Regions from separate parts of the Homo sapiens genome. Here regions 1 and 3 are each linked to region 2. The links are contacts of gene promoters, found by promoter capture Hi-C in blood cells and fetal thymus (Javierre and others, 2016). All regions are on one chromosome and are shown on one strand. Each heading gives the region's core, a stretch centred on a gene start or on the middle of the fragment in contact. The rest is flanking DNA. Distances are from core to core; before and after follow the strand shown.

The links. The method cuts DNA at HindIII sites, captures the fragments that hold promoters and counts their contacts. A CHiCAGO score of 5 or more calls a contact.
Region 1: a fragment that was not itself captured here is called in contact with the fragment with the promoter of EFCAB14 in region 2 in 2 of 17 cell types (neutrophils and erythroblasts); the score reaches 7.1 in neutrophils.
Region 3: a contact is called between a fragment that was not itself captured here and the fragment with the promoter of EFCAB14 in region 2, in 8 of 17 cell types (monocytes, M0 macrophages, M1 macrophages and 5 more). The highest score is 7.1, in monocytes.

What each region holds. Positions count from the first base shown.
Region 1 is chr1:46,492,871-46,496,543 of GRCh38, reverse strand. All of the region lies in intron 2 of DMBX1 (diencephalon/mesencephalon homeobox 1), which reads right to left. Among named protein-coding and RNA genes, the nearest start is that of DMBX1, 4.9 kb to the right of the region's middle. RefSeq lists an enhancer at 3,582-3,673. The HindIII fragment of the contact is 2,341 bases long and covers 762-3,102 here.
Region 2 is chr1:46,717,548-46,721,085 of GRCh38, reverse strand. EFCAB14 (EF-hand calcium binding domain 14) reads left to right here and starts at 1,972. Exons shown (of 11, transcript NM_014774.3): 1 at 1,972-3,183. The coding sequence starts at 2,999. RefSeq lists silencers at 1,748-1,797, 2,118-2,167. The HindIII fragment of the contact is 11,051 bases long and covers 1-3,492 here.
Region 3 is chr1:46,572,753-46,576,537 of GRCh38, reverse strand. It overlaps MKNK1 (MAPK interacting serine/threonine kinase 1), which reads left to right. Exons shown (of 13, transcript NM_001135553.4): 6 at 1,518-1,591. Among named protein-coding and RNA genes, the nearest start is that of KNCN, 23 kb to the right of the region's middle. The HindIII fragment of the contact is 1,641 bases long and covers 603-2,243 here.

The DNA.
Region 1 (3,673 bases), core at 683-3,182, 220 kb after region 2:
TGCCAGATCCTCAACTTCAGCACCTCATTAATTTCTTACCCCAAGTCTATGAGGGAGGCGCTCTCCACATTGCAGATGAGGAGTTGAGGCTCAAGGAAGGTGAGTCCCTTTGGCTGGCCTGCTTGGGAATGGGGAAGGCTAAGCCCCCATCCCAGTAAGTACCCTGTTCCCACATCTGTTCTTAGTTCTGAGTTGCCAGGAATCTGCAGTGGGAGGATAGGATGTGAGGGCTGTGGAGATCCCGATCCTACCCTGACCAAGGACCCTGCAGGCACACAGTTTGAGAGCAAGCTTGACATGATGACATCCCCAGCTACTACCTCTCAGATGCCGCTTATTTTACAGGGGCTCCTCCAAGAGCCCCATATCCATTCCTGGGTTACGCTGAACCCTCCATGCTCCCCAAATCTCCTGTCAGTATCAGGCACTCAAAGGTGCAGAAAGCCCAGGGATCAGCCTCTTCCTCCCCCTGCCAGGGGCCAGATTCTTCCCAACAAGGGCTCTCCACCAGAGGGTGGGGTGGGCCAGGCCTCATTTGAAACAAATGAACCCATCTCTCAGACCAGTTCTCTCTGATACCTTCAAAGCCATATTTCTTAAGAGCCATATCCAAATCTGTCATCTCCCCTTCCTTCCCTCCTGTACACTCCCACCCACCACTGAGCCATGGCTCTCCAAAGCTACTATGTGGCTGCCTCCCACTCCGGGAATGTTGTCCCTCCACCAGCATGACCTGGAGAACTCCTGACTTGCATTAAGCTTGCACACGCCTTTCTCCAGGAAGCCTCTCCTGCCATCCCCATCTTACAGATTCAGAAATGGAAGGTGAGAAAGATTGGATAATTTTCTAAAATCATCCAATTTTAGCAGTGGTTCGGTCCAGAAGTCACCAGTTGGGTCCGGTGACTTCTTTAAATTCCTATCCTTACCAAATTGTAGTTGCCAATTTGCCTACCTTTTGCCAGAGTTTTATAATAAATAACTATTATTACCAGCTATCCTCATAGAGACCTGACTGGCAGCATCTCATTTAATCTTCACAACCTCATAATCCCCATTTGACTGATAAGGAAGCTGAGACCCAGAGAAGTAAAATCACTTGTCCAAAGCTACACAGCTAAGCAGCTTAGCCGGGATGGAATCGAGGGAGTCTAACTCCAAATTGTGAAATCAGTGCCCACCAGAGCTCTTAACCTTGATCCAGGGCGGGGTCTGCTTCCCCAGCTAGTACTCAGGACCCAGTGCCCAGAGCAAGGGACATCAGACATTCATTCCACAAATAAAGATGGAGCCACTGCCTGTTGAGCGATGGACTTTGGGGGTAGTGTCATGAATTCCAGCTTGAAGGGCTCAGATTCTAGGGGAATTGCAGATGGTCACATGCCCTAGGGCAGAGGAAACCAGCTCTGGGAGATGAGAGTGGGCCAATGTCCAAAGTTTCCTCTTCACCCTGCCTGCTCTGCCCTGCCCCAGCAGGGAAAATCCAATGTCCTCACCAGAAGCCAAGCCACCTTCTGGCCACAGCTGTGACCCTGACCTTGTCACAGACTAAGCTCTAACCTCATCCTACATGAGCCCTGGTCACTGCCCTCACCTTGGCCATGTTCCCTCCCCCAGCCAGTGGCATAGGTATCATGACCCCCACATCGCCACCGTTAACCCTGCATTGCCTGATCCATATGGGAAGGGGATGAGCTGTGGGGGGTCAAATAATCTGCTCATCCTCCTTTCATCTCCACTGAGGGCCCCCAAAGTGAACCTGGAGTTGGAGCTATGCATGGCAGGCAGGTGGGCTTGGAAGTATGTGGCTTTGCAAGGGTCAGATTGGAAGAGGTGCTGGACTTCATAACGGGCACACAGAGCTCATAAATTCCTCAAAGGAGATTCTCACCTCCCCTCTTGGCTCAGGGATGGGGGCCCAGTGGATAGGAGAAGAACCCACTGGGAGAGTTCCAGGGTCCCGGTGGGTCTCAGGGCCAACCACCGGCCAGTGGCCCTTTGAAGGAGTCGGGGCTCTTAGTTCCCTATACAAACTGTTATCCATTAACATCCAATTATCCCTTGGTCCGAGCCATTAATTATAAATCAGCCACTAATTGGGGTAATTAGCCCCCCGCAGGCTAATGGGCCGAGACTGAGGGAGGCCCCTCCGCCTACAGTCCTCCAGTTTTCCGAGGTCCTTAATGTTGGGGGTGCAGAGAAATCAGGCGGCTGGAGTTAATTTTTTGTTCTTTTAAGGCAGCAAAATGCAGCCAGGAAAGGGAAAGAAGATGGGAGAGGCCACTTTTTTGTTGCTTTTTCTCGAATCTGGCCCAGCATCCATCAGCTTTTGAGAGCAGGTAGGTGGCGGGGTAGGCCAAGGGACCTGACTGCAAGTCTTGAGAGTAGAATTGTCTGGGTAATTGCTTGATTCTCTGCTTCCTTTCTGGCAGAGATACAGCTAGCACACTGGAGATCGAGGAGACTTGGGCGGAGCCGAGATGGAGCAGGGCATAGGTTAAGACCCCAGGATGTTCCTGGCCTCTCCAGGGTACAGAAGTGGTGGCCCTGCCTGCTCAGTTAGCCTTGGCCCAAAGTCTGTCAGGGATGACCTGGTCCACTTTTGGCCATCCAGATCCAGGCCGGGGCTGGGAAACAGGGACTACAGAGTACCCTGAGGAGCAGAGCTGCTCTAGGCCCAAGTTAGGGCCTCCAAACGGCTGGAGGAACTCGGAGGAGGGTCTGTCCTGCGGGCGCAGAAAGCGCGGTTGCGGCTCCTGCTCTGCACACTGACAGATGTACAACTCATCCGGGGCACAAGCAACCCTGGAGATAGAGCTGTGGAGGCTGGAACAGGCCGGGAAACCCAGTGGGCTCCAGTGGCCTCGGGGCTCATGGAAGCAGCGCCCACAGTGGCTGTAGACCAGAGGGAAGGAGTGACCCCATCTGGGAAATGTGCTCCCTCCTGCCGCTGTCATATCCAGGGAACTCCCCTTTGCCAGCAAAAACCTGGCTAAAGTCCGAAGAACAGTTGGGGCCAGAGCCACCAGAGCTGGGATCTGTGGTCTGTCCAATCTGGGATGTCCACCCATCAGGCAACACTGGGGCAGAGTCAAATAAGCTTGGAAGAACGGACAGGTGACTAAATAGAAAGAGAGGCCACTGAACGGCGGGAGGGCTGGACATTGGAGAGCCCAGCTCGGTGCCCTTCTTACAGAAAGGGAAACTGAGACTCGCTCAAGGTCAGACAGGAGAGGCACTCAGTGCAGGATGAATGTGGAGACCAGAACACACACCCTGCCGAAAGCTCACCAACCCACCCCAGCGCCCCTCCCTACTCGTTCGGTAATGGGCTTTGGCGGGCAGCAGTGGCGTCGCCCGGGGCCTTGATTAGATATTTATTGCTGTCATTTACATGGGCACTGCGGGGCGGCCGAGCGGGACTGTGAGAAAGGGGTGGGGTGGGGGGCGAAATGGGAAGGCAGGGGTGGGGGAGGTGAAGACTGGCTCCTTGAGGAACTGGGACTGGCCGGAGGAGGAGGAGTAACTTCGAGGCCTGGAGAGAGTGGCGGGAATAGGGAGCGCAGAGGCCAAGCAAAAATGTAGACGCACCCTCCCTAGGGCTGCCTGGGGCTTCTGCGCAAGGTGGGGCTGTGACACTTGGGACTGTTGTCCTACGGGGTGTCTGCATGTG
Region 2 (3,538 bases), core at 723-3,222:
CAAATCAGATACAGGCCCAGGCTTTGCGAGAATCCTTGGACAAAAGCAGCGTAATTGCCACAGTAAGAATATGGGCATAAAAATTACTTTAAGTGACTTTCTTCCAAGTAGCTCAAAGCACTTTGCTTTAAATTCCATTTATATCTGATGACTTCCCAATTGATATTTCAGGCCCCAACCTGTGCCCAGAGAACTCTCAATGGGTATACCAAACAGCCTCCATTTGAATATTGAATTGGCTTGTCAAACTTGTCCCAAACTTGCTCTACCCCATCTCAATAAATAACAATTCCTTGCTTCCAGTGTTTCCACCGCCAAACCCTCTCTTCTCTTCACACCTTTCATCTAATCTATCAGCAAAAATTGTCAGCTCTGTCTTCAAGAAACATCCAGAATGCTCTCCATCTCTGCTACTGCCTCTCTAATCTATCAGCATCATCTCTAGCTGGACTGTAACAAACTGCTCTCCTGTGTTCCTCACTCTCCCCCCACTTTTTTCTACAAAGTAGCCAGAGTAATTTTTTCCTTTATTTTATTTTATTTTATTTATTTATTTATTTATTTATTTATTTATTTATTTATTTATTTATTTATTTTTGAGACGGAGTCTCGCTCTGTTGCCAGACTGAAGTGCAGTGGTGCAATCTCGGCTTGTTGCAACCTCCGCCTCCCGGTTTCAAGCCATTCTCTTGCCTCAGCCTCCCAAGTAGCTGGGATTACAAGCGCGCACCACCACGCCCAGGTAATTTTTGTATTTTTAATAGAGACAAGGTTTCACCATATTGGCCAGGATGGTCTCCATCTCCTGACCTTGTGATCCGCCCACCTCAGCCTCCCAAAATGCTGGGATTACAGGCGTGAGCCATCGCGCTGGCCCAGAGTGAATTTTTTTTTTTTTTTTTTTTTTTACGGAAAAGCCAGAGTATGCTACCTCTCAGCTTAAAGCCCCCAGTGCTTTCCCAAAGTCCTTTCAGTGATCCATAAGGCCCTAAAGCCCTGGCCTCTGATGCTTCTCTGACCTCATTTCCTATCACTCTGCTCCTTGCTCTTCTGGTCCAGCCACAACAGGTCTTCCTGGTCACTCCTTCCTGCAGCCACTGCACAGCTCATTCCCTCACCTCTCCTCCGATAAGCTGACTAAATGTTCCCTTTTCACAGAGGCACTCCCCATCACCTGACCGTGTTTCAATTTTCATCATAACACTTATCACCTCCTGACATTTAATATGTTTGCCTATTGTTGCTCTCCTCCCTCTAGAGTATAAATAAACTGCAGGAATAGATTGGCAGATAAGATACACGATGCTCAGTTAAACTTGCATTTCACATACACAATGAATAATTTTTTAGTGTGAGGATGTCCCAGATGTTGCATGGGATGTCTTAATGCTAAAAAATTGTTTGCTGTTTCTCTGAAATTCAAACTTTACTGGGTGTCCTACATTTTTATTTGCTAAATCTGGCAACACTATACAGGAAGACAAGGACCCTGGTTATTTTGTTCATGGCTGTATCCCCAGCGCTAGAACAGCTCCTGACACGTAGTAAGTAAGCTCTCAATAAATATTTATTGACTGAATGAATGTGTTAATTAATCTGAAACGCGCCTAAACTTTTAACAGCCTGTGTGAGAGTCAGAGAGGCGGAGCCTTCAGACTTGGTTAGTCCAGGGGGCGTGGGCGGCTGATGAACTTTCGAAGTAGGTCGAGCAGCCGGGCGCTTTGCCTGCCCCGCCCGCGCTCCGCAGGATGCAGGACTCCACCCGGCTCAGGTTCGCAGCAGGTCCCGGAAGCCCTCCTGGGGGCGGGGCCACCCTAATCGGCAGGTGGGACCCAGCCCCAGCCGGGGCAGGGCCCCTTTAACGCCCCACCTCTCCGCCACGACTTTCGCCCCGGCGTGACGTCACCCCAGCGGGCGACCAATGGGAGTGCGGCTTACTGGCAGGCGGCGCAGGCGGCCGCTGCCAAAGGGGAAGTGATCTGGGGCTGGAGCGATGGCCCGGGGCTGGAGCTCGCGGCCGCCGCCGCCGCAGCCGCCGCCACCAACGCCAACAACAACGTGTCGGGAGCAGCCGCGGCCGAAGCCGGAGCAGGGGCCGGAGTCGCGGCTGGAGTGGGGCCTGCGCGTGTGAGTGGCCGAGAGTTGCCCGTGCCGGAGACCTCAAACTCCGGGCGGGAGCGCTTTCGGTCGGCCGAGCCGCCGTCGCCCGCGGCACCGTGTCCCCAAGGCCCAGACAGCGGGGCGGGGGTCTATCAGGCGCGGGACTGGCTTCTCTCAGGCCGACCCTTCTAGCCGGGCTCCGGATCTTCCTCGGCCTCGGGCCCCCTTCACGTTCAGGACGGAGGCCGGAGAACGGTGATCATCACACACCCCAGCCGGCTTCCTGGCCAGGGCATTTTCTCTGCGGCCAAGCAGTGTTGGGATTGTAGCTGCTGGGAGCCCCCTCCTGCCGCCACCTCTCCTGCAAGGAAGGGACTGACGCGTTCCCACTTTCTTACTCTGCACCTCCCCACTCTCTTCCCATTCAAGAACGAGTTTCTCTTCCCTCTCCATTGGAAATCTTGCTCCGGAGGTCCGAAACACGTATTTTAAGCGTGCCCTTCCTCACCTCCTGGAGCACCCTTAGAAGTATTGCCTACTTATCCGGGCTGAGAATCCTTCATTTTTGACCTGGCTTTTTTTTCGCCCTTTGGGAGATAAAGGTCCCTCTCCACCCTCTACTAACACTCTGCACCCAAGGCCTTATCCTTTGGGGTCACCAGCTCCTTGGCCATTTCTATGTGATTTCCCCCACCCATCTGAGTTCCAGTTTCCTCTGGGCTCCAATCTCCAGTCCCTGGCGGATCTGGTCAGTCCCACCCCTAGGTGGGAGTGACCAGGGGGCTCTGGCCCAGGATTCCCAACCCTGGAAGGCAGCTCCAAGGCAGGAAGAGAATTGGGCATCGGGTACGAACCTGGCAGCTCAGGAGTCGGGGCTCCACTCACCCCACACAAAAAGATGAAAAAGCGCAAAGAGCTCAATGCATTGATTGGTTTGGCTGGGGACAGCCGGAGAAAGAAGCCCAAGAAAGGCCCAAGCAGTCACCGCCTGCTTCGCACTGAGCCTCCCGACTCAGACTCTGAGTCCAGCTCCGAAGAGGAAGAGGAATTCGGTGTGGTTGGAAATCGCTCTCGCTTTGCCAAGTGAGTAGTGGTGAAAGGTGGAATGGGAAGAAGGCATCTCCTTGCACTACCAAGGGGCCACATTGACAGGAAGGAGAAAGGAAGTCCTTAGGAAGAAAAAAGGGTGTAGGCCTTGGAAGTCAAAGAGGGAAAAACGGTTTTAGGGAGAAGGTAAGTTCAGATCCTGAATGAAGAATAAGTTAGAGATCTGTCTTTAGGTGTAGAAAGAAAAGCTCCAAATCTGAGGTGGAAATGTGGACTTGGAGAATGTGCCAAGAGCCCAGGGAGTCCTAAAGAAGCAAAGAATGGAGACAGAGGAGCAGAGAAGCTTTGGGGACTAGACTTTTTAAAACAGTGTAGAACAAAGGAGAAGCAG
Region 3 (3,785 bases), core at 174-2,673, 140 kb after region 2:
ACGCTTGGCCACAGAAGAGGAGGCTATTTCTTACCATCTCCTGACTCCAGCATTTAGCTCTCACTCCTGTCCCCACAAGGCAGGTACCTCCTTCCGCCCCTTTCAGTGTTAGGGAGAGAAAGGAAAAGCAGCAGTAACAGCAAAGGAGCTATTATCTCTTCTGAAATACTGTAAATATCATCAATTCAAGCAAGTTAGAAGAATGAACTATCTGAATCAGTGGTTGTTGGGGGGAAATGGGGTTTTATTTCTTTCGGTACCTGTGGAAACTAGGTTGACTGAGTGTTGCCTGGTAGAAATCTTTAAGGACTTGCCTTAATACCAAGATGAGGAGAACTGTTAAGAATATTTGCTGCTGTTTCTGCTCCTAGAATGTTTACATATGTGCAGATACCACTAAGATCCTGGAACCTTCCAGATAGCTGGGTCCGGCTCATCTCTAGCCCCAGTTCATTCTGCCCACCACCAGCTCCAAATGAGCAGCTCTCCCACTGTGGCTTTAAATCAGGGGCACCTCTAAGACTCCACTTCCCCCTCTCTCCCTCCACGGTAGGGTCAGCAGGGAGCCAGTGGCCTGGTATTGATGGCTTTGTCATTAAGCTTGGAGGATTGGAGGACGGGGGCTGCTGTTGATTTAACTCCAGGCACTGCCTCCACAATCTTCTTTCAAATTAGGCCATTTTGCCCATCTTATTTGGATGCCTTCACACTAGTAAAAGCCTCATATCTCCCAAAGTAGTCAGCATTTTTTTTATGAGGGACAGATTTTTATTTTCAGCCCTGCAGCTTCTTAGTTCAGCATTAGAGACTCTACTTGGTTTATTTTATTTTGTAAAAGAAAAAAAGCCCACAACACCTCCAATATCCAGGCTGGTGGCTTCCCTACTGAGTTACAAGACGACCTTGTTGGCAGAGCACTGAAATACTCGGGCAGACAGAGAGTGCTCACCGGGGAAGGCCACAAGTGCTACAGTGGCCAGGAACGCGGCCGTTTCATTAAGCAGCGCTTAGCAGTTAGGGTCTAGCGGTGCCCATGTTAGGCCCCAAGTCCATTTGACAGATGTTTCCATTTTCTCCAGGCAATGTAAATACTGCCCCGTGATTTATGGGCAAGAGGGAGGGCAAGTAATTATTTGCTGCTTGCCTCCAGGACACACACCTAGTATTCAGTGTTATTAGCCGCAATTGCTTCCAGTCGGCTGCAGATTTTATTCAGTTTAATGTGACCGGGACTTTTTTATAACTCTACCTAGTGGGTTTTAGGGCTGGGGTTTGACAGCACAGACTTGGTGAAAACACCAGAGACTAAACATTATGGAAAGATAAGGTGACCTGAATCTTGCTAACACCATTGGCTGCTTCCATACGCGGGTCTTTAATAAGCATTCTGATTTCAAGTTGGTTTCTGCCCCACTACCAGGTGTTGTATATTTTTTTCATTGTATATTTGTAAGTAGACTTTAATATATAATACCATTTCCCCCCTTTTCCCTCTCCTCCTATTTTCCCTATTTAAGGAACATTTTGGAGCTGATTGAGTTCTTTGAAGATGACACAAGGTTTTACTTGGTCTTTGAGAAATTGCAAGGAGGTACTTACCGTTGAGTATGTGTGTGGACTTCTGATTAAGACCCAGGGTGGTGATCATCCATCATGAATCCCAGAGACTTCCAAAACGAGTCAAGCTAATAAAAAGGATGAAGGACTTAAAAACTGCCCTTGATTTGGGAGAAGGGAGGCCGGAGGGAAGGATGATAATTAGCATTTTGCAGAGCTTAGAATGTCACCTGTGTGGGTATTTTATAAATGCCTTTTCATTATAATAGGAGTCATATATAGATACATTTAGTCATCGATTTATCAATCCCGTTTTGACATGTTCACTGTTTAACTACATTAATTATGGGGTGGAAGCTCTCAAATACATTGCGAAGTCTAGAAAGGCTAAAACAGAGGAGAGGAGGGTCCTATTGTTTGGGACACAGACCCAGGATAAAGGGGAAGCCTGAGAATGTGCCATCCTTCAGATGGAAAGATGCCATCACCCACACACATAATCACTGGGGTGTATACTTAAGTTGCTTTTCTGACATAATGAGGTGGGGTAGAGAAACCCTTTCCCTTCCCATCACTCCCCCAATCTTAGGACACACTTGCAGGGATGTCTGGAACTGCATGGAGGGCCACACGGAGGGGCTTGGTGGTTGAGGGAGCGTGCTTTAGAAACCAACACAGCTAAAGCTTATGTTATGTCTAGCTGCATCACTTACTAGCCATGTGATCTTGGGCAAGTCACTTAACCTTTTCTAAACAATATTCCCTTCTATAAAATAGAGATATTGATAGCACCTACCTCACTGGGTTGCTGTGAAGATTAAATGAGATAATTCATGTGAAATGCTTAGGACAGTGTCTGGTAGGCACTAAGGGCCCAATAAATGTTGGCTGCTAATATTATTAAAACAATTTGGTATGCTGGGGGATGTCTTAGAAGTATGTAGAGTAGACCAGGTACAGTGGCTCACGCCTATAATCCCAGCACTTTGGGATGCCAAGGTGGGCAGATCACTTGAGGTCAGGAGTTCAAGACCAGCCTGGCCAACATGGTGAAACCCGGCTCTACTAAAAATACAAAAATTAGCTGGGTGTGCTGGCACATGCCTGTAATCCCAGCTACTCAGGAGGCTGAGGCAGAAGAATCGCTTGAACCTGGGAGGCAGAGGTTGCAGTGAGCCGAGATCGCACCACTACACTCCAGCCTGGGCAACAGAGTGAGACTCTGTCTCAAAAAAAAAAAAAAAAAAGTATGTAAAGCATTATTCTCTGCTTTTCCTTTTAACAGATTTGGAAACGAGGCTCACTACAGCAGAGCAAGCTAGGACCTAGTCATGAGCCGGTTTTCTGGGAATGTTCCCTAGCACATTGGGATCCGTTGTTTAATCTGGCAAGCGAACAATCTTTGGCAGTTCTTCCCCTTCTCTCATGCCCTCCCCATCCCCCCTAAAAAACAGTAGACATGTGCCATTTTTAGGACAGAGAGATAATACCTTCAGCCCAGAAATGCTGGCTTCTAGTAGTAAACATAAACCACATGAAGCCAAGCCACATGTTCCTGCCTGTGTCTGCCCCTGCACCACCCAATAACACATGACTGACTGTTAATTACATGTTTGAAATGCTACATGCAGATGGGATCCTCTGTCGCCATATCAGTAAACTTAATGTAGCTTATTGAGGCCAGACCCAGTGTGGTTGGCTCAAGAGAGTCCATCCCTGCAGCAGTCAGACCACAAGTCCTGCTGGGGGATGTCTGCACAGACTCGGAGGCCTGACTGACGCCCTGGGCCTAAGTCCTGGCCTCACCCCTTACTGGTGCGTAATCTTGGGCAAGTTGCTCAACCATTTTTCTTTTTGGCTTCAGGATCTCCCTCTGTAAAACGAGAATAAGTGTACTACCCATTTTGTCCAATTGTGGTGAGAATAAGACAGTTTATTTCAAGAGTATTCCATAGCACATGGCACTAGTAACTACTCAGTAAATGTTAGCCATTGCCAACAAAACAATAATGAATGGGAAAGCTCAGGCGGAAAACCCATTTTTCCCCCCTTTTCCCAGGCCTTTACATGTCTGGCAAGGGTGTGGCATTTCCATTTGAAAGTTTGTGCTCTTGTTTGGATCAGAGATCAGATGCAGGGGAGAAAACGTTGCTGCAGAAAGGCCCCCTCAGCTCCAAGTGCCTTCAGTTTTATTCCTTTTGATTGCAGAAGCCAAATCAGCCTCAGCA